2 separate regions of the Homo sapiens genome follow, and region 2 is linked to region 1. The links are contacts of gene promoters, found by promoter capture Hi-C in blood cells and fetal thymus (Javierre and others, 2016). All regions are on one chromosome and are shown on one strand. The core of a region is centred on a gene start or on the middle of the fragment in contact, and the rest is flanking DNA. Distances in the headings are between cores, read along the strand shown. Region 1 holds the start of KLHL31 (kelch like family member 31). Region 2 has its middle 42 kb from the start of GCM1.

Region 1 (4,254 bases), core at 503-3,002:
TATTACAATTAAAACGGGATTGAAGGCCAAGGCAGAAAGATCACTTGAGACCAGGAATTTGAGACCAGCTTGGACAACATACTGAGATCCTGTCTCTACAAAAAACAAACAAACAAACAAACAAAGATGGAAGGTTCTGACCCTTTACCTGAGTCAAGGAGGTGGGACCAAGTAGAATTTCTTAGAAGCAAACCATAATAGAAGCTTCTTTGATTTGCTCCTGGCGCTTTCTGTGCTGGAGATCTATGGGTAGAAGCAAAGAATTAAAAAAAAAATCCAAATAGTTTTTCCTACTAAAAAATTGGTGGGAATTCCAGCAGAAGTAGTCAATAGACAGATGCTATCCAGTGAATTGAGAGTCTCAGGTGAACTGGAGACTGGCACATATAGAATCAGAGCCTTAGAGTTGGAAAGATTTCAGAGATGATGCAGTGCAAGCCCCCAGCCATAGACAGAGTCCCTTCAATGTCACACCAGTCCTGCAACTTCTTTTACTTCCACCCTTCTAATTATAGAGAACTGGCTCTTTTACAAGGCTGCCATTTTCATCATTAGAGCCCAGCTGTTATCTGCACTCTTCTTCTTTATTTTAAGGTATTTCCCCGGAATTACTGCACATTAAAATTTTTGACATTTTAGGCTACAGAAATTTTGACTGAATCCTCTTGCTGTACAACAGCCCCCACAACACTTGCTCTCAGGTGTCTCACTTATCTTAAAAGTCCTCTCTTTGTCATACTTCTCTTCAGATGTTTCCAACATGCACCGCCTCTGAAGTTTTTTTGTTCCAGCCATCTCTGTAGGATGAAGAGTAAGTTCTCAGAGTGCCAAGATAGCAAAGTGATGCTTAACACATCATCTGACTAATGAAGAATAATTAGAACATTTATTTTCCATGATCTATTTTTCTATTATTGTAGCTTAATATCATGTTAACTTTTTAAGCAACCATTTCACACTCTTGGTGCCCATTAAAATTTGTAGTCAATTATAATCATTGAATTTTTTTTCTCATGAAGTGTTGCCAAAGTAGATATTTCCCAACCTGCATGTGTGCTAGAGTGTGTGTTAATCTCAGACCTCTCTGTGATCACTGGAAAATCGCTGGCCATAAACCTCACTTTATTAAACTCTAAAATGAGCCTAATAATGTTAGAACCACATGTGAGGTGCTGTAGAAAGTACCATATCTGGTAGATACGTGCTCCTCTTATAAAGAATAGGCTATTTATAACCACTATCTTCTCAAAAGACCGTAGGTGACCAGGCTAATTACCTTTCCAAAAACTAATTTTTAATCCACAGCCTTCCCTTCTCCTTACTCTACTAGAATCCCTGCTTCCAACAATTAAACATCCATCGAATTAATTTTCTTTCCTCTCACACAGGTTGATTGAGCTCTTGACTTTCTTTCTTTCTTTCTTTCTTTCTCTTTCTTTCTTTCCTTCCTTCCTTCCTTCCTTCCTTCCTTCCTTCCTTCCTTCCTTCTTTCTTTCTTTCTTTCTTTCTTTCTTTCTTTCTTTCTTTCCTTCTTTCTTTCTTTTCTTTTCTTTTCTTTTCTTTTTCATTTTGAGCAGCTGGTCAGTTCAAGAAACCCAACCCCTCTCCACCAACCGGAGCCCCGCCCCCTGCCCCCGGCTGGCTGGAGAGTTGAAGGCCAAAGACGGAGAGGAGGGCGCTCGCTGCTCTGCTCCCGGGCCAAAGCGCAGGCTCGGCCTGCCTTATCCAGTGGGACGGCAAAGGGTCACTCTAAAAATTGCTGCAGCCGGGTCTTGTCAGGTGGCTGCTGGTGGCTCCCCACCGGATTTTCCTTCTCCCTCTCTCTATCTCCACAGATCCCTTCCCAAGAGGAGTCTCCTGCTAAAACTTCATCATCTCAAGTTGACCTGCCACTTCACCCAAGGAGGGTAAGGAGCTGGGACCAGAGTCGCCAATTCCTGCCTTCTAGATCCTGGGGTGTGTGTGGATGTGTGGGTGGGAGAGGGTGGGCTGAGTGTTTGTGGTTGTAGAGCTATTTTACTGAAGGGAGTCTACAGCTGGGTCAGGTGGTTCATGTCCCTAATCTGAAGTTGGGAGACAGAAAACATTTTTTTGAAATCTGAGAAATGTAACGTGTTAGGAGAACTTCACGGTAACAAAATGCATGACAATGATGCCCTACAAATGTAAAACCACCTGTAATTTCTAACAAAAATTCTAAATCTCTAAAGCTTAAGATATATTTTTCTTTCACTACTTTATAGAGAAGGAGAAGGAGAGAAAATTCTTAGGCTTTGTTCACAAAGTTTAGAATTCTACCTTTATTTTTATCAAGAATCATTTTAACATTTGTTACTGATCAGTTTGGATGAAATGTTACCAGTTTTAACTAAATCTGTAGCACAAAACTCAGACAACTCTGAATTCCCAGAAATATAACCTATTGATGAAATGGAAATATCCTTCCTAAAAAAAAAAAAAAATTTGTTATTTGGCTAAAAAATAGGTTTTTGTCTTAAATGTGCACATATCATTATGCTGACATATATTTTATATTAAAAATCATGTTGGAAGTGTAATGGTGAAGTGGAAACCACCCCCCTACACCCCACCCCGAGGTTGGACTTAAAATGGCAAGCCACAGAAGCCAGGAGGGTTTCTATTCCTGGAGGTAGGGCTGATGAGCCCCGACAGATGCAGCGATAGGAATGTGGCCAGGACAGGGAGCAGGCGCAGCTGATTCGCCCCTTTGGCAAAAAGACATTCTGGGATCCCAGTTCATACTGGCATGAGAGTGACAGTGACACTTTAGCACACATGGCTTTCCAGTTTACCCTGTTGTGGACTCCCAGGAAGCATGGGTGCAGGGCAGTGGGAAGGAAAATGTTCTCAAATATGAAGTAACAACTCTTTTCTATAACCAGTTCTGGGGGTCTTCATCTGGGATCAGCTGGGGCCAGGAAGAATTTAAGTGCAATACTTTCACATGGACTTGCCCACTTACAGACAAGGGTCCAATTATGTACCATTGCTTGGCAGCATTATTCTCAGTCCAGTCATTTTGGATCTATTTCGGGTTATGGATCTCATGAAAACGCTGAGCCCAGTGTGTGGAAAGTACACATAAACATATGCACACAGTATGTTTCAGACTATTCCGCAGGACTCATGGACTCACCTGATACCCAGCCCTGATCAGGAATGCCAGATACAAGTCAGGTCATCCAGCTACATTTGAATTTCAGGTAAGCTACAAATCAACTTTTAGCATAAGTATGTCCTCAACACTGCCTGGGACATACTTATACTAAAGTATGATTCATAGTTTATCTGAAATGCAAATGCAACTTGACATCTTGTATTTTTATTTGCTAAATCTAGCTGTTCAGACCCAGACATATAGATCCCATGTAAAGAAACCTTGTCTCAGTTCGTTCATCCCTATCTGATAATGAGTAGATTCTAAAGATATGGAAGGCCATATTACAGGGAGATTTAATGTAGGAACAGATTTTGACAATTCTGACAGCAAAAGTCAGCTGTGTATTCATAACTGTCTGCAAAATTATAGAAGCAAAAGTAATGCATCTCCTTGTTTGACAGTTGATTATACTGAAATCCTGATAGGTTGGACGTTCTGCTATAGGTCTATCAAGTGGTTAGAGCAGAATGAACACCGAAACCCAATTTTCAGTTCTATGATAATCAAAAAGGCATCAGTCTTAAAACTCAATTTCTAACCTCCTCTCCCTCCAACACACAAAATACTAGGAAAGAAAAAGAGCCAGTTTACTAAAGTTTTCAACAAAACCCAAACAAAAACTTTGTACTGTGTCCTTGTGTCCTATATACAGCCTTAGAGAATAGAATTGTAGTTAACTTAGTGCATAGAGTCTGTATACTTTATAGATAAAAGTTAGGCACAGCCTCTAGCTAAGTTGAACCATATGAGATTGAAAGTATTTGCTTTTAAACAAAAAATGATAATTTCATATTCAATCTAATACTTCTAAAGGAAGTGCTTGATTATCTGATAAACAGATTCATGCAAGCCCTCCTTGTCCCTATTTATTTGGCTTACCTAACCTATTGGATTTTCACATTCTTACTACCCTTAATAGGATAAAGAAATCCACAGGATCGATGTGTCCCCAAACAAATTTATTTTACATTCAAAAAGGTAACTCTTTTATTCTAGTATTTGGAACCAGAACGAACCATTTCATGTTCTCCATATCAAAATTTTAAATTTATAAACACCAGCTATACCTTGCA
Region 2 (4,254 bases), core at 863-3,362, 480 kb after region 1:
TCACTACTTGGGTGATGGGATCATCCGTATCCCAATCCTCAGCATCACACAATATACCCATGTAACAAATCTACATGTATCCCCTGTATCTAAAATAAGAGTTAAAAAAAAATTTAAATTCCGTTTTGGCAAATGCATTTCCTTTCCTATCTCACTAGACTGGAGCCTCTGACCCTCTCAGGACACCCCTCAGGCAGGGGAGTTTCCTCATCACAACCTGTTTGTTTCATCCTGAATTACAGCCCTAAATCCTTTGCTGAGTTGCCATTTTCATTAAATCAAAGTATACTTGTTAGAGACTTAAAGTTGATTAAATAGCAAAATAAACCACTTATCTTCCTATACATCTTCAACTCCCAGAGCTAGTTGTGACAAGGGTTTTGGTGGCCACCAAGAAACCACACTATAAGAATTTTAGAAGAGAGTTACTTTCATTTCATATTTAAATTATTATTATTATTATTTTTTTTTTTTTTTTTTTTTTTTTTTTTTTTTTTGAGACGGAGTTTCACTCTTGTTGCCCAGGCTGGAGTGCAGTGGCGCGATCTCGGCTCATTGCAACCTCCACCTCCCAGGTTCAACTGATTCTCCTACCTCAGCCTCCCAAGTAGCAGGGGTTATAGGCATGCGCCACCATGCCTGGCTAATTTTTTTTGTATTTTTAGTAGAGACAGGGTTTCACCATGTTAGTCAGGCTGGTCTCAAACTCCTAACATCAGGTGATCCACCCACCTCGACCTCCCAGAATCCTGGGATTACAGGCGTGAGCCACCGCGCCCAGCCAAATTGTTTATTTTTAAAAATGTTTGAATGTGTAATTCATTCCTATGTCTAAAAAAACTAAGAGAAAATTACAGAGTGAAGTTTCTTTCTACACTTGTCCCCCATCTACCCAGCATTCCCTTCCTAAAACAAGTTTCTTTTTTATTCTTCCAAGGATTTTAATGCATATGAATATCAATATTTATTTACCGAAGTATATACACCTAGAGGCCAGGTGCAGTGGCTCACGCCTGTAATCCCAGCACTTTGGGAGGCTGAGGGCAGGAGTTTGAGACCAGCCTGGCCAACATGGCAAAACCCCGTCTCTACTAAAAATACAAAAAAAAATTAGCTGGGCATGGTGGTGGCAGGCGCCTGTAATCCCAGCTACTCAGGAGGCTGAGGTGGGAGAATTGCTTGAACCCAGGAGGCAGAGGTTGCAGTGAGCTGAGATGGTGCCATTGCACTCCAGCCTGGCCGACGAGCGAAACTCCTTCTCAAAAAAAAAAAAGAAAAAGAAAGCTTTACCAGATTCTTTTCTCTCTCTTTCTCCCATTTTTTTAACTTTTATTTTAGGTTTATGGTACATGTGCAGGTTTGTTAAATAGGTAAATTGTGTGTCACAGGGGTTTGGTGTACAGAAAATTTTGTCCCCAGGCAATGAACATAGTACCCAATAGGTATTTTTTCTGATCCCCTCTCTGCTCCCACCTTCCACCCTCAAGTATGCCCTAGCGCACCTGTTGTTCACCTCCCAGTGTCCATGTATTCTTGTGCGTAGCTCCCACTTATAACTGAGAACATGCAGTATTTAATATTCTGTTCCTGCATTAGTTTGCTTAGGATAATGGCCCTGGCTCTATCCATGTTGCTGTGAAAGACATGATCTTGTTCTTTTTTATGGCTGCATAGTATTCCATGGTATATATGTAATCACATTTTCTATTTTTTTTTTTTTTTTTTTTGAGACAGAGTCTCGCTCTATTGCCCAGGCTGGAGTATAGTGGCACCATCTCGGCTCACTGCAACTTCTGCCTTCTGGGTTCAGATGATTCTTGTGCCTCAGCCTCCCTAGTAGCTGCAACTACAGGCATGTTCCACCATGCCTGGCTAATTTTTTTTTTTTGAGACATATTTCACTCTTGTCGCCCAGGCCTGGGCAACAGAGCGAGACTCTGTCTCCAAAAAAAAAAAAAAAAGATAGAAAATGTGGTTACATATATACCATGGAATACTATGCAGCCAATAAAAAAGAACAAGATTGGCTGGGCACGGTGACTCACGCCTGTAATCCCAGCACTTTGGGAGGCTGAGGCAGGTGGATCACGAGGTCAGGAGATAGAGACCATCCTGGCTAACACAGTGAAACCCCGTCTCTACTAAAAATACAAAAAAAAAAATTAGCCGGGCGTGGTGATGGGCGCCTGCAGTCCCAGCTACTCTGGAGGCTAAGGCAGGAGAATGGCGTGAACCTGGGAGGCAGAGCTTGCAGTGAGCCGAGATCGTGCCACTGCACTCCAGCCTGGGCAATGGAGCCAGACTCCATCTCAAAAAAAAAAAAAGAACAAGATCGTTATTTTAAGCAAACTAATACAGGAACAGAAAATTAAATACTGCATGTTCTCAGTTATAAGTCAGAGCTACACATCAAGAACACATGGACACTAGGTGGTGAACAACAGGCGCTGGGGTGTACTTGAGGGTGGAAGGTGGGTGTCCATCTACTAGAAATATATAAAATATAATAATATACAATGTTATCAGAAGGTGATTTCAAGGGATTGGGAAGGATCCTGTGTGGCTTTGGCCAATATTGGCCATTTTGACCATTATTGTAGTTTACGTTAAAAATAACTAACATTTTCACAGAGCCTTAGAGTCTTAGAGTTATTGCATACTTATGTTATTCCACCTACATTAGTGGTGGAATGAGGCAGGAATGTATTATCATTTTTATTTTACAGATGAAATGCAAGGAGATTAAGTGACTTGTCCAAGAGCTAAGTAGTAAATGGGGTTGCCAGGAGTTGAATTCCAGTTGCCTGACTTGATGTCTAGCATAAAGGCAGCCAAGCAACTATATGATTTAGCTATGTAATGTAACCCTTTAGAGCCCACACCTTGCAAGCTCTGTGCCATAGCTTTTAGATTAGTTGCTTAAAACTGAAGCCAAGCTTTTCAGTGGCAATGATTTAAGTTGCTAAATATAATCATGACTCTCAAGAAAGTTATATTTTAACTTTGTATGATCTAGTTTTGTGTTTTTTTGTTGTTTTTTTTTTTGAGACGGAGTCTCCCTCTGTCGCCCAGGCTGGAGTGCAGTGGCATGATCTCGGCTCACCGCAACTTCCGCCTCCTGGGTTCAAGCAATTCTCCTGCCTCAGCCTCTTGAGTAGCTGGGATTACCGGCATGTGCCACCACGCCCGGCTAATTTTTTTTGTATTTTTAGTAGAGACGAGGTTTCACCATATTGGTCAGGCTGGTCTCAAACTCCTGACCTTGTGATCCACCCAACTCGGCCCCCCAAAGTGCTGGGATTACAGGCATGAGCCACCACGCCTGGCCCTAGTTGTCTAAAACTTTGAACAGGTCTTTAAAAAATATATTCTGTTGATCTACTGTGGATCAATATAAAGACATTTGCTAAGGATCAGATCCCATGTAATATCTTACACATTGGGTATAGATTAGGCTGGAACCTAGTTCTTAGATTCCTACTCAGTTATTTCACTAAATGAATACTTACTTAATTATACTTAGTGAATATTTTACTTAATTATGCTTACTAGGCAGAATAGTAGGAGATGTAGCTCTAACCTCTAGTGACATATTTTAATAAACAGATCACAGCCTGGGTAACAAAAGCAAGACCCTGTCTCTACAAAAAATATAAAAAATTAGCCGGGTGTGGTGGTGCATGCCTGTGGTCCTACTTGGGACCCTACGGTCCCAAGAGATCTGGAAGGGTCTCTTGAGCCCAGGAGTTTTAGGCTGCAGTGAGCTACTGCACTCCAGCCTGGGTCACAGGTGAGATTCTGTCTCTAAAACAAAAACAAAAACAAAACCAGATCAGACATACCAGTATTATGGTTCTTGGTGCTTTTGGTGGAGCTTCACCTTGGTGGGAGGAGTTCTAGAGACATCTCTTCTGCAACTGATTCCTGAAAAGGGATGACAGTAGCCCTCCCGCTCCCTTATCCACAGGGGATAAGTTCAGAGCCTGAAACTGCCCATAGCACTGAACCTGATCGCCATCAAGCGGAACACAGTTCTGTTTATGACCTCCACCCACACATTTCAATGTTTTTTTTTTCCTTAACTAAGCACTTATCACACACTGTTGTGAGCTTTGCAGTTTGAGATGCAACAACGAAACTAGCATGAATTTCTTTTTCTTTCTTCACGATCTCAGGGATACAAGATTCCTTCTTACTGCAGATCTTAGCAACCTCAAAATACGATGGTTTCCTCTTCTTTTAAGCTGAGAACTT

What was found. Contacts are between HindIII fragments. The CHiCAGO score rates a contact against its expected background, and 5 or more counts as called.
Region 2: a contact is called between a fragment that was not itself captured here and the fragment with the promoter of KLHL31 in region 1, in 1 of 17 cell types (activated CD4 T cells). The highest score is 5.2, in activated CD4 T cells.

The regions. Positions count from the first base shown.
Region 1 is chr6:53,663,254-53,667,507 of GRCh38, reverse strand. It overlaps KLHL31 (kelch like family member 31), which reads left to right and starts at 1,752. Exons shown (of 3, transcript NM_001003760.5): 1 at 1,752-1,907. The HindIII fragment of the contact is 2,006 bases long and covers 207-2,212 here.
Region 2 is chr6:53,188,334-53,192,587 of GRCh38, reverse strand. No RefSeq gene overlaps it. Among named protein-coding and RNA genes, the nearest start is that of GCM1, 42 kb to the right of the region's middle. The HindIII fragment of the contact is 1,652 bases long and covers 1,287-2,938 here.